4 separate regions of the Homo sapiens genome follow, and regions 2, 3 and 4 are each linked to region 1. Evidence: promoter capture Hi-C in 16 types of primary human blood cells and fetal thymus (Javierre and others, 2016). All regions are on one chromosome and are shown on one strand. Each heading gives the region's core, a stretch centred on a gene start or on the middle of the fragment in contact. The rest is flanking DNA. Distances are from core to core; before and after follow the strand shown. Region 1 holds the start of FXYD6 (FXYD domain containing ion transport regulator 6). Region 2 overlaps TMPRSS4 (transmembrane serine protease 4). Region 3 overlaps TMPRSS4 (transmembrane serine protease 4). Region 4 overlaps SMIM35 (small integral membrane protein 35).

Region 1 (2,743 bases), core at 182-2,681:
ATGTATGTGTGGTGTGAGTGTGAGGGTGTGTTGATTGCGTAGTGTGGTATATGTCTGTATGTGTTTGTGGTGTTGGTGATGTGCAGTGTGTGTGAAGTGGGTGGTGTGAGTAAGGGGCCACTGCAATTGGGTGTAGGAGCCAGATATCTAGGTCTCCTAGCCAGGGATAACCAGTATCTAGGCAACCATACTGGGGGGAGGGGAGGAGATATGGAGGTGAGGAATGGGCAGGAGAAAGAGGGAGGCTGAGAAATGGAGGAGTTTCCATGGCAACGACCAGGCAAGTCACGTGCAAAAGGCTAAGTTGCGGACGTAGACATACACATCCATAATATGAGGGTGGCTGGATCCCCAAAGGGGGCTCCTTTCAGAGAGGGCCTGAGATGCCCACTGATCCATCTTCAAAGCTGGAAATCTTAGCCCAGCCAGACAGCACGAAGCCACAGAGACAAAGGAAGTAGTGGCAGAGAGCACACTGGTGGGGAGAAGCCTCCAGTAGCCACGGTCCCGCGAGCGTGCAGGCTTGCAGCAGGTGACGCGGCAGACCCATGTTTCCAGCGAGGCTGCTCCCAGCTCCCACCCTCGGGTGCCTCCTCTACCAGCCACCACTTGTAAGAGCCAGAAGCCAGCGCTGGGAGCTCCAGGCTGCACACCCAACTCTCCACGGAAGCCCGGGAGACACAATAGGGGAGGCTCTGCCAGGGCCAGCCCTGCTGGGGAAAGGGGGCAATGGCGGACCCCAGGGCCCCCCGGAAAGGAAACAGGATTGGATGGATAAGACAAGAAGGAGGGAAAAAATGATGCACTCTCATGAATCCCCGAGCGCTAGAATCCTTCTTTCCCTGCGCCCCCATCCTGTGCCCACTGCCCAGCCCCACCTTCCCCAAGCACCAAACCAGCAAGTTCCATTTTGTGTCGCTCATAAGTCCACACTCACACCCAGCCACACGCCCTCGTCCGTAATTCCCCACGCTCCACCAAGTGTCCACAGCTTCCAAGTAACAAAGGGAAAACTCCTCATGGATAAAGGGTGGGCGCAGCCCTTTCCCCTTCTCCTGAAAACCCTGACCCCAAGCTCAAGGCAGCACCGAGAGCAATTCCCAGCCACCAGCGTCACCCCCAGCGCCACAGCCTGCCTCCCCTAGAGGCTCCTCTCTCTTCCGACGCCGATCTCCTTGTTTACATCCCCAGCCCGGTTTCCCGCTGCCCAGGCGGGGACCGCGGCGCAGCTGACCGCGGAGGACCGCACACACCCACTGAACACACAAAACCCGGCGCTCCCGGCGCTCCAGAGATCGGTCCCCACCGAGCCTCGCCCCTCCTCGGAAAAAGGAGCCAACTTTGCCCACCTCCCCAGCCGCCTACCTGCACAGCCGGTCCCCTCCGAGACTCCCAGGAGGACCCGCCGAGTCCCGAGGAGCCTGGGAGTGGCGGGGCTGGGGGCAGGGCGGTGGGTGAGGCTTGAGCTGCTTTCCCGCCTCCCCTCCTCCTAGGAGTCGGGCTGGCTGGGAGGCGCGTCCTGCGGGGGCGGGGGGGGGGCTCGCTCGGGGCTGGGCTCGGGGACAGCCCACTCCGTGCTGCCGTCCGCTGGCTTCTGGGTAGCGGCCGCGCGCAGACCCCCTCTCCTCCTCTCCCTGTCCGTCCTCCCGCTCTGTGCTCGCGCGCGTCCTCTGCTCCTCTCTCCTCTCGAGGGGCGGAGAGATTTTTCCAAAGGGCAGTCAAGCTCCGAGAAGCAACAGGAGACTGCCGCCGAGGAGGCGTGCAAGCGCCGGAGCGGATTTGCCATCAGCTGTTGCTTTTCGGTTTCCCTCTGGTTAGGGTGGGAAGGGAGCAAGACAGGCACAATGACAGACCTGGTGTCTCTCTGCAATAGTAAACCCCGAGGAACGGAAAAATAGGAGAAAATAACCCAGCACCAGACACAGCAGCCCACGTTAATTGGGAGCCTTGGTAATTAAGGGGAATGTGCACCAAAAGCATGAATGGCTGTGTCGTGGGCGCAGGAGCCAGCTCCAGTTGTAGTTGTCATTTTCAGCTAGAGCCAGGTGGGGAGCTGGGGGGATGGTCCTTACCTGAACCATAGATCTGCTGCCTTGAACCCCCTTTTCAAGCCCCATCCACCTCTGGCCCTGCCAGGAGCAGTACCACCCCGTCCTCAGCCCAGTCCCCAAGAGTCAAAATTCATGATGACGAACTTTGAATGTGAAGATGTAAATAAATCCTGGCTCGGCAACCCTGCCTGTGACGCGACTTGGAGCATATCTCTGCACTCAGCTCCTGAGTCTATTTCCTCACGTGGGAAAATGGTGATTAGAGACTGACCCCATGGGAGGCTTAGCTCATAGTGAGTGCTCAAGAAATTGGCTCTTACTATTAGGGGCAGAGCTTGTAGGAAGGGGCAGAGGCCAGGCACAAGTGTCAGTAGCCAGGAGCCATGCTGAGATGGAGGCTGTCCAGCCTCAGTCAAGGTGTGTGTATGGCCGAGCCGGGTGGAGGGAGGAGCTACTGAGAAAGGCTGTGATTGTCCAAGCCTAGGTAGGGCCACGGAGAGTTCCTTACAAACCCCAAGCCGGGGATGATGGGTACTGCTAGGAAGAAACCTAGCCCTGCCTCTGCTGCCCTCAGTTCTGGGCCTGTTTTCTCATTTGGGAAAATAGGGAGATGGACTAGATGATCCTGAGGTCTCTTCCAGCTCTGCCCTAGATGATCTAATTATTTTAATAAAAGGTCAGGTCTCAAAACC
Region 2 (2,743 bases), core at 172-2,671, 240 kb after region 1:
TGGAGACCCCTCAGGGAGCTCACAGTGGTTGGGGGAAAGGGGGGCATTAAACAGACATTTAAGCTATAGTTTTGGGTTCAGAGGGAGGAAGCCCCAGGGGCTAAAACAGCTGATAAGGACTCCCAGATAAGTGCACTTTTCACTATCTGGCATTTTCTTGTTTTGTTATTTGCTTGTTCACTGTCTCTCACCCCATTTGATCCTAAGCTTTCTGAGGGCAGGGATCTTTGTTTTTTTTCATCAGTTGGATCCCAATTGCTTAGAACACTACCTGGCACAAAATAGGCACTCTATAAGTGATTACACAAATTTTGGAACGACTAGGTTAAACAATGATAACCAGGCTTTTTTTTTTTTTTTTGAGACTGAGTCTCACTCTGTTGCCCAGGCTAGAGTGAAGTGGTTTGATCTCGGCTCACTGCAGCCTCCGCCTCTGGGTTCGAATGATTCTCCACCTCAGCCTCCTGAGTAGCTGGGATTACAGGTGCCTGCCACTATGCCCAGCTAATTTTTGTATTTGTAGTAGAGACGGGTTTCACCATGTTGGCCAGGCTGGTCTTGAACTCCTGACCTCAAGTGATTCACCCGCCTCAGCCTCCCAAGGTGCTGGGATTACAGGTGTGAGCCACCGCTCCTGGCCAACAACCAGGCTTTTTTAAGACATCACTCAGAGCCTTTAATTTGCTAATGTGAGTTGTGAATCTCTGAGAGAAGGCTAACGGCATGCTTGCAACTTACTTGTCCACAGACAAGCCTTTCTGCCCCAGAAGAGAAGACCATTCTAGGGTGCTAATGAGCAAAGAGGGTGAGGGTGGAATATCGGAGAGCAGCAGGGAGTGCAGGGGAACAGATAGGCCAGTTCAGGGAGCAGAGAAGGAGAAGCCCCCCCACCTCACCTGCCCTCCCCAGCAGTCTCTGTTCTGGTCTCTCACAGGGTGACAGTGGTGGGCCCCTGATGTACCAATCTGACCAGTGGCATGTGGTGGGCATCGTTAGTTGGGGCTATGGCTGCGGGGGCCCGAGCACCCCAGGAGTATACACCAAGGTCTCAGCCTATCTCAACTGGATCTACAATGTCTGGAAGGTAAGGTACCTTTGCCCTACCCACTGTGCCTTCCCTCCAGTCCTCTACCTGGGGGGTGCCAATCCATCCTCAGGTTTGATTTAAATGGTTCTGACAACTCTTTACATCCCAAATAACTTTCCCTCCAAGCAAGGGACAGCCTGAGATTGCACTATTAAGGCTGAAATTCCTTAGGTCAGAGATTTCTGATAAATGCAAATACCTTAGGGAATAGAACACACCAAGCCTTTCTTTCTCTTTTCTGACAGAATGAGACTATCAGATCCTTTCTAGAGAGAAGATTCTGATAAGGAAGAGAGTGGAAAGGCTCATGAGACCTCCTGGCCCTCTGCAGGGTAGGGAGAGAAGCAAAGTGTTTCAGAAAAGGAAGACTCACGTTACACATGTCACCACTTTGTCCAGTTTCAGATAATCTGACTTTCTCTTCATCGGTCTCTCTTATTCTAGGCTGAGCTGTAATGCTGCTGCCCCTTTGCAGTGCTGGGAGCCGCTTCCTTCCTGCCCTGCCCACCTGGGGATCCCCCAAAGTCAGACACAGAGCAAGAGTCCCCTTGGGTACACCCCTCTGCCCACAGCCTCAGCATTTCTTGGAGCAGCAAAGGGCCTCAATTCCTATAAGAGACCCTCGCAGCCCAGAGGCGCCCAGAGGAAGTCAGCAGCCCTAGCTCGGCCACACTTGGTGCTCCCAGCATCCCAGGGAGAGACACAGCCCACTGAACAAGGTCTCAGGGGTATTGCTAAGCCAAGAAGGAACTTTCCCACACTACTGAATGGAAGCAGGCTGTCTTGTAAAAGCCCAGATCACTGTGGGCTGGAGAGGAGAAGGAAAGGGTCTGCGCCAGCCCTGTCCGTCTTCACCCATCCCCAAGCCTACTAGAGCAAGAAACCAGTTGTAATATAAAATGCACTGCCCTACTGTTGGTATGACTACCGTTACCTACTGTTGTCATTGTTATTACAGCTATGGCCACTATTATTAAAGAGCTGTGTAACATCTCTGGCATAGGCTAGCTGGAATGCTTGATAAGAACTGAGCTGGGATGATTGAACTTTCATTCTTTGGCTTGGGGAGAAAAGAAGTCCTGGGGAAGCAATTGAGTCTCAAAGTAGAGGCAGGGGAAAAAAGAGTTAGGGAGACCAGATCTGCTGAGTGGCAGCAAGAGTGAGCTGCAGATTACAGAAACCAGGGTGAGCAAGTTTGAGTCCCACACAGGGCCTTCTCCCTTTGCCTCTTTCCCTCCCTCCCTGCCTGTGATAATCAGCCAGGAGCCAGGGATAACCTATGACTTGGGAAAGAGATGAGTTAGGCAGTCAAGGGTGACATTCAATCAGGGATCCACAAGTGGCTGGAAAGAAATGCTGGTCCTGTGTCCTAACTTTTTCCGCCTGGAGAGCCCTCAGTGTGGCTTCTTACATTTAAAAAACAAAAAGGATCAGCTGCCAGGTGTGAGGCAGTCCCCAAGCTGAGTTGTGAGGATGTAAGCATGAATAAGTCCCTGCACTCAAAATGGTCAAAGAATTAAACCCCATGGACTTTTTTGGCATCTGTATGAAAGCTTGGGTTTTCTGAGGACTGTCTTGCTATAGTTAAGTCAGATCCTAGATGAAATATACTTGTTCATACTGTACTAGGTTCTTAGGAAACAACAGAATTCCTCA
Region 3 (2,743 bases), core at 171-2,670, 210 kb after region 1:
CCTGGCTAATCTTTGTATTTTTAGTAGAGACAGGGTTTCACCATGTTGGCCAGGCTGGTCTCGAACTCCTGACGTCAGATCCACCCGCCTCAGCCTCCCAAAGTGCTGGGATTACAGGTGTAAGCCACCGTACCTGGCCCCATCCATATTATTTTGTGTCACTACAGTTCATTTGTTTTGACTGCAGCCTAATATGTCACTGTGTGAATATACCAGTCAGGTTCGTAAAGACTGAGCTGAGGCTGAGTCCTCAAACTGAGATATTTTCATTAATTCTTTCATTCAACAAATATTTTTTCAATACTCATTATGTACTGTGCATTGTAGGAGACATCAGGGATATCACAGTTAACAAGATAGTCACAGTCCCTGTCATTCTAGCTTACGGTTTTGCTTTAGTTTATTTTTTCTTTCTCTCTTTTGGTTTCAAACAGGGATAGAATTTTTTTCCACAACTACTACTCAGTGAATAGCAATTGAAAACATATTAAGAGCCAGGCATTGTGGCTCACACCTGTAATCCCAGAACTTTGGGAGGCTGCGGTGGGCAGATCATTTGAGTCCAGGAGTTCGAGACCAGCCTGGGCAATACAGTGATACCTCATCTCTACGAAAAAAAAAAAAAAATAGCTGGGCGTGATGGTGCATGCCTGTAGTCCCAGCTACTCAGGAGACTGAGGTGGGAGGAGCCCTTGAGCGCAGGAGGTGGAGGCTGCAGTGAGCTGAAATCACAACATTGCACTTCAGCCTGGGCGACAGAATGAGACTCTGTCTCTCTCTCTTTCTTTCTCTCTCACTCTGTCACACACACACACACAAACACACACACACACACACACACACACAAAATTAGCCACTGTTCAGTTCAGTGATGAGGAATCCAAGGCCCCAGAAAGTGCAGAATATAAGCCTCCTTTGTGCCTCAGCTTCTAGCACTATTCCGGGTCCATCAAAGTTGTATAGTCAATATTTGTTAAATTAACAATAAACAAAAGAAACTTGCCCTACCTACCTCAATGAATGCAGGCATGCATGCACAGGTAGACTCAGTGGAAAAGAATGAATTGACAGGAAAGGGCCCACTTCCCTGCTCCACCAACCACTCTTATAGCCTCCCACAGCTCAGCAAGCACCCTCTCACCCACGTAACTAAAACCCAAGCACACCCAATCCATCGGCGAGGCCTATTGTTTGTATCTTCCAAACACATTTGGCGTCTTTTTACCACCAACCTCCTCTCTCCTTATGCCCTTGCCTTGCTCCAGCCATGCCCATCTCTATTCAGTTCCTCCAACCCCCCAAGCTTGTTCCTTCCCACTTGGCTCCTTCTTGTCACCTCCTCTAGGGAGACCAGCAAGATCCTCCGTAACCATCCTGAGCCCCTCCCTAGAGCTCCCATTCTCAGTCTGCATCCAGGCGCTGTCTCCTCTCACCCTGGATTACTCCCTGCATAGCACCTACCCCTCTCTGATCTTTTCTGGTTTATCTGTTTATGGCCTGTCCTCCCCCTTCCCCTAGCCCTCCTCTCCACCAAGAAACAAGCTTCTTGGGGACAGACCCTCGGCTGTCTTCTTTGGGCACTATTTTCCCCATCTTGCTGGGATGATTTCTTGATCTGTCTTTGAATCCTCCTGGAGTAGTGCCTGGTACAATGTAGATGCTTTACAAGCATTTGTTTAGTTTAATAATTAATTCTTTAATGCTGCCCATCCTGGTTGGCAGACAATTGATATCGACTTGACTAGACAAGAGTTAGATGAAAGGACTTTGTAAACTGTTACATGCCAGTTGGGTGTGAATTACTGTTGACGTTATCCTAACTTGACTCTAGCTGCAACAATGCAGAGTCGTCCGATTGGGTCTCATCTTCAGCCTGGAAAGAGTCTGCTCTATCCAGCCCTGGTGATGGTGGAGGAGAGACGGCCGGGAATGAACTACAATGCAGAGCTCAAAGTTCAGTCCAGTTCACAGTCATTTATTAAGTTTTTACTAGGTACTAGCCTGGTGCTAAACAGCAAGGGTACAAAGGCAATGAGAAAGAGTGGCTAATTAAAAATAAAATGTTAAATTTAAAAAAGCAACCAAAAAGAAAGAAAAAAGGAAAGGAAACGCTGACCACCCTATGAGAGAAGCCCTGTGATAAACACCTGTACCAAATGCTACAGAAGTGCAGAGGATGGTGTAACCGCCCAAGGGGTTCACCTTGCCCGCTGCCTAGACAAAACCAATTCATCAAGACAGGGGAATTGAAATAGAGAAAGAGTAATTCACGCAGAGCCAGCTGTGTGGGAGACTGGAGTTTTATTAGTACTCAAATCAATCTCCCCAAGCATTCAGGGAGCAGAGTTTTTAAGGATAACTTGGTGGGTGGGGGGAAGCCAGTGAGCCAGGAATGCTGATTGGTCAGGGATGAAATCATATAGAGTTGGAGCTGTCTTCTTGCGCTCAGTCAGTTCCTGGGCGGGGGCCGCCAGATCAGATGAGGCAGTTTATTGATCTGGGTGGTGCCAGCTGATCCGTCAGGTGCAGGGTCTGCAAAATATCTCAAGCCCTGATCTTAGAAGCAGTTTGGGGAGGGTCAGAATCTTGTAACCTCCAGCTGCATGACTCCTAAACCATAATTTCTAATCTTGGGGCTAACGTTAGTCTAGTCCCCAGACAAGAAGGCAGTCTGCTCTGGGAAAGAGCTGTTACCAACTTTGTTTAAACTATAAACTAAGTTTCTCCCAAAGTTAGTTCTGCC
Region 4 (2,743 bases), core at 157-2,656, 180 kb after region 1:
GGCCAGGTAGTGGCCGACGATCAAGTGGTGGATGGGGCAGGTCATGGAGGTCTTGCCGCTTCTCAAGGAGAGGCGGGATTCTATTGGCCCCTGAGAGGCTCACTTGGGCCAGGGTTGGGACATGCTGGGAGTAGCGAGCCCAGGCTAAGGCGGCCCTCCAGGCAGCCAGAAGGGTCATCCTGGAGAGATGATGGGAGCCTGACCCAGGGCAAGGGACAGGGGAGAGGTGGATAGGACATCAGGAAGGGAGGGTCAGCAGAACTGGGGATCAATTGGAGGTAGTAAGTTAGGGAGAGAGGGGAGGCCTGGTGACTCCTGGGTGTTGATTAGGCAACAGGGTGGATGGCAATGCCACTGATCAAAATGGGGACATGCAGGAAGGCAGTTCCATCGTCCTGTTGAGCTCAAGGTACCTGCCAGACCCCACGAGGAGATGTCCATGGGGCAATAGAGATGTAGGTTTAGAGCTCAGGAGGGTCCCCTGGACCAGAAAGCTGAATTTGGGAGATATCAGCACCCAGGTGATAGGTGTAATCGCAGAAGGGGATGAAATCCCCAGGAGGAGAATAAAAGCAAGAAAAAGAGAGGGCCACAGAGGAACCCCTCGGGAACACCAACATACAAAGTGGAGATGACGGAGAAGATCCAGACAGGGAAGGACAATCACGGTGTGAGAAAGGCTCCAGGAAGACAGGCCAATTCTGCAGAGAAGGCAAGCGAGATCATTTAACACCATTTGCAGAAGTAGCAACGGAGGTCATCAGTGGCCTCTGCAAACACAGTTCCAGTGAAATGAAGGGAGCAGAGGCCAGACCACCGAGGGGTGTAGAGTGGATGGAGGTGCAAGGAGGTGGTGAAGAAAGGAGAAAAATAGCCAGGCCACACATTTCCATGAGAACTGGAGGTGACAAAGGTTGGCCGCTCACTCCCCAAGCTGAGTGGTGAGGGGAAGGAAGAAGGTCTGGCCACAGGGCGAGAGCAGCCGGAAGCCTCAAGGGAAAGCGGTGCATTGGAAGAAGGGAGATGTGGGCATAGCTACCTGCTGGAGAAAGGGCGACACTGAAGGCGCAGAAGGAACTGCCAACTGGTGCTCTCTTAAGAAGGAGGAATAGAGTTCAGAAGGCTTTGAAGGGATAGAGACAAACCTTCCTGGAAACCAAAGTGCACTCAGGAAGGGTCTGGGTGTAGTTATGTGTATGGGAGTGGGAAGGATAAGGAGAGGCAAGACATGAGGCATTCCTATCTGAGGATCTCTGCTTCCTCTGTGCAGTAGGAGGTCAGAGCATCTGATGAGAGCATTGGGGGAGGGGAGTCCTGATGGGGACCTTGAAGAGGACTCTGAAACATGAACAGAGCCACTGTGGGGAAAGAACTGACCGTGGGCATCTAGATGACACACTGCTGGGGGTGGGAGACTCCGCTGGGCGCTGGAGGCAGTGCCGTTGCTGTGGTCACTGCTCTGTGGCCAAAGGACTTTTCAGCACCCAGGTGCAGGGGTGATGTGGGTGGATGGCTGGCCTGCCCCAGGGCTGCAGTGTTGCTGGCCAGGTGTGGGAGAAGAACAAGGATGAAGGTATTATATTTGCAAGTGAGTGGTATGTTGAGGGGATTCGCCTCGGAGGCTGAAAGCAAAGCCAGGAAGGAGCTGATGAAATGAGAGAAATCGGAGGTGTGATGAGAGAAATTGGAGGTGTCGGGAGCTGGGATTCTTTATGAGGCAGACAGCAGGCGGAATGCAGGCACGAGGGTGGAAAGGCTGGAAGGATGGCAGCGCAGGACTGGAGGATGACTGACCAGAGACTGAGCTTGATGATGCCAAGAGGCAATTTTTGTGGAATGAAACACAAACAGACATTATCGTTCAAAGTAAACGATGATATTCATCTCCAGTTCATCCAAGCCTATAATTTGATACCTGGCTGCAGGGTAGGGTAACCGCAGGCAGGGGATTAAACTCTGTTGACCCTGTGACCTAGTTGACATAGGGTCATACTGACAGCTAATTAATTGTCCTGCCTAATTAGAGCAAGTTTTGTAATTGTTTTAAAAATTTGTCTCAGGTCCCCGTGGCCTGGGGGCTGGTCACCCTGTTGTGGGACTGTTCTGCTGGGCCAGGAGAGCAGGGTCCCTGAAGCGGAGCATGCATTGGCTGCCACACACCTCTCAGGACTTCCCTGCAGCCCCCACGGTAATTGGCTGTCTCCTCTTCCTGGGCTCACCCCTCCTTGCACTGAGCTTTCTCTCCTCCTATCCCAGTCTCAGGTTCAGTATTCACCCCAGGGCCAGGAGTGTGGGGAAGGGGCTAGAGCTGCACATGGACCCAAGGCGGGAGGGGCGCAGGCCTGGGCAGGTGGGCAGCTTTGGACGAGGGACCAGCAAGCAGCTGCAGCCTGGGCACAAGAAGAAATGACGGGGCGAGGAATGGGGTGCGAAACCACAGGGTGAGAGGCACGTGCCTGGGACCAGGCTTGGAGTAGAAGCGAAACCAGAAATCCAGTTGTAAGCACAAGAGAAAAATCAGAACCTCAGGGAACTCAGGGCAGGTGCCTCTCTATCAAAGGAGGGGCAGTGCAGACTGGGAACCAAAAACCCAGGGCACCCATCTGGACCCGAGGGCTGCGGCGCAGAGCACGTCCTGCCTCCAGGCCAAACTGCTCTGGGAGATGACCAAGAGCCCAGCTCGGGGGGCCTGGGGAAGGAATGGGGTGGGAGCTGTCCTTCTGCAGAACAGGAAGCCACAGCT

The links. Contacts are between HindIII fragments. The CHiCAGO score rates a contact against its expected background, and 5 or more counts as called.
Region 2: a fragment that was not itself captured here is called in contact with the fragment with the promoter of FXYD6 in region 1 in 1 of 17 cell types (naive CD8 T cells); the score reaches 5.2 in naive CD8 T cells.
Region 3: a fragment that was not itself captured here is called in contact with the fragment with the promoter of FXYD6 in region 1 in 9 of 17 cell types (activated CD4 T cells, total CD4 T cells, total CD8 T cells and 6 more); the score reaches 8.1 in activated CD4 T cells.
Region 4: a contact is called between a fragment that was not itself captured here and the fragment with the promoter of FXYD6 in region 1, in 4 of 17 cell types (total CD4 T cells, activated CD4 T cells, naive CD8 T cells and 1 more). The highest score is 6.8, in total CD4 T cells.

The regions. Positions count from the first base shown.
Region 1 is chr11:117,875,227-117,877,969 of GRCh38, forward strand. FXYD6 (FXYD domain containing ion transport regulator 6) reads right to left here and starts at 1,432. Exons shown (of 8, transcript NM_022003.4): 1 at 1,366-1,432. FXYD6-FXYD2 (FXYD6-FXYD2 readthrough) reads right to left here and starts at 1,432. Exons shown (of 10, transcript NM_001243598.4): 1 at 1,366-1,432. The HindIII fragment of the contact is 14,206 bases long and covers 1-2,743 here.
Region 2 is chr11:118,116,371-118,119,113 of GRCh38, forward strand. TMPRSS4 (transmembrane serine protease 4) reads left to right here. Exons shown (of 13, transcript NM_019894.4): 12 at 935-1,084; 13 at 1,532-2,743. The coding sequence ends at 1,543. Among named protein-coding and RNA genes, the nearest start is that of SMIM35, 31 kb to the left of the region's middle. The HindIII fragment of the contact is 2,433 bases long and covers 206-2,638 here.
Region 3 is chr11:118,090,003-118,092,745 of GRCh38, forward strand. The region is part of intron 1 of TMPRSS4 (transmembrane serine protease 4); the gene reads left to right. It overlaps LOC105369517 (a long non-coding RNA gene), which reads right to left. Exons shown (of 4, transcript XR_007062904.1): 4 at 2,285-2,532. Among named protein-coding and RNA genes, the nearest start is that of SMIM35, 4.4 kb to the left of the region's middle. The HindIII fragment of the contact is 239 bases long and covers 1,302-1,540 here.
Region 4 is chr11:118,056,088-118,058,830 of GRCh38, forward strand. The region is part of intron 1 of SMIM35 (small integral membrane protein 35); the gene reads right to left. Among named protein-coding and RNA genes, the nearest start is that of TMPRSS4, 20 kb to the right of the region's middle. The HindIII fragment of the contact is 7,499 bases long and covers 1-2,743 here.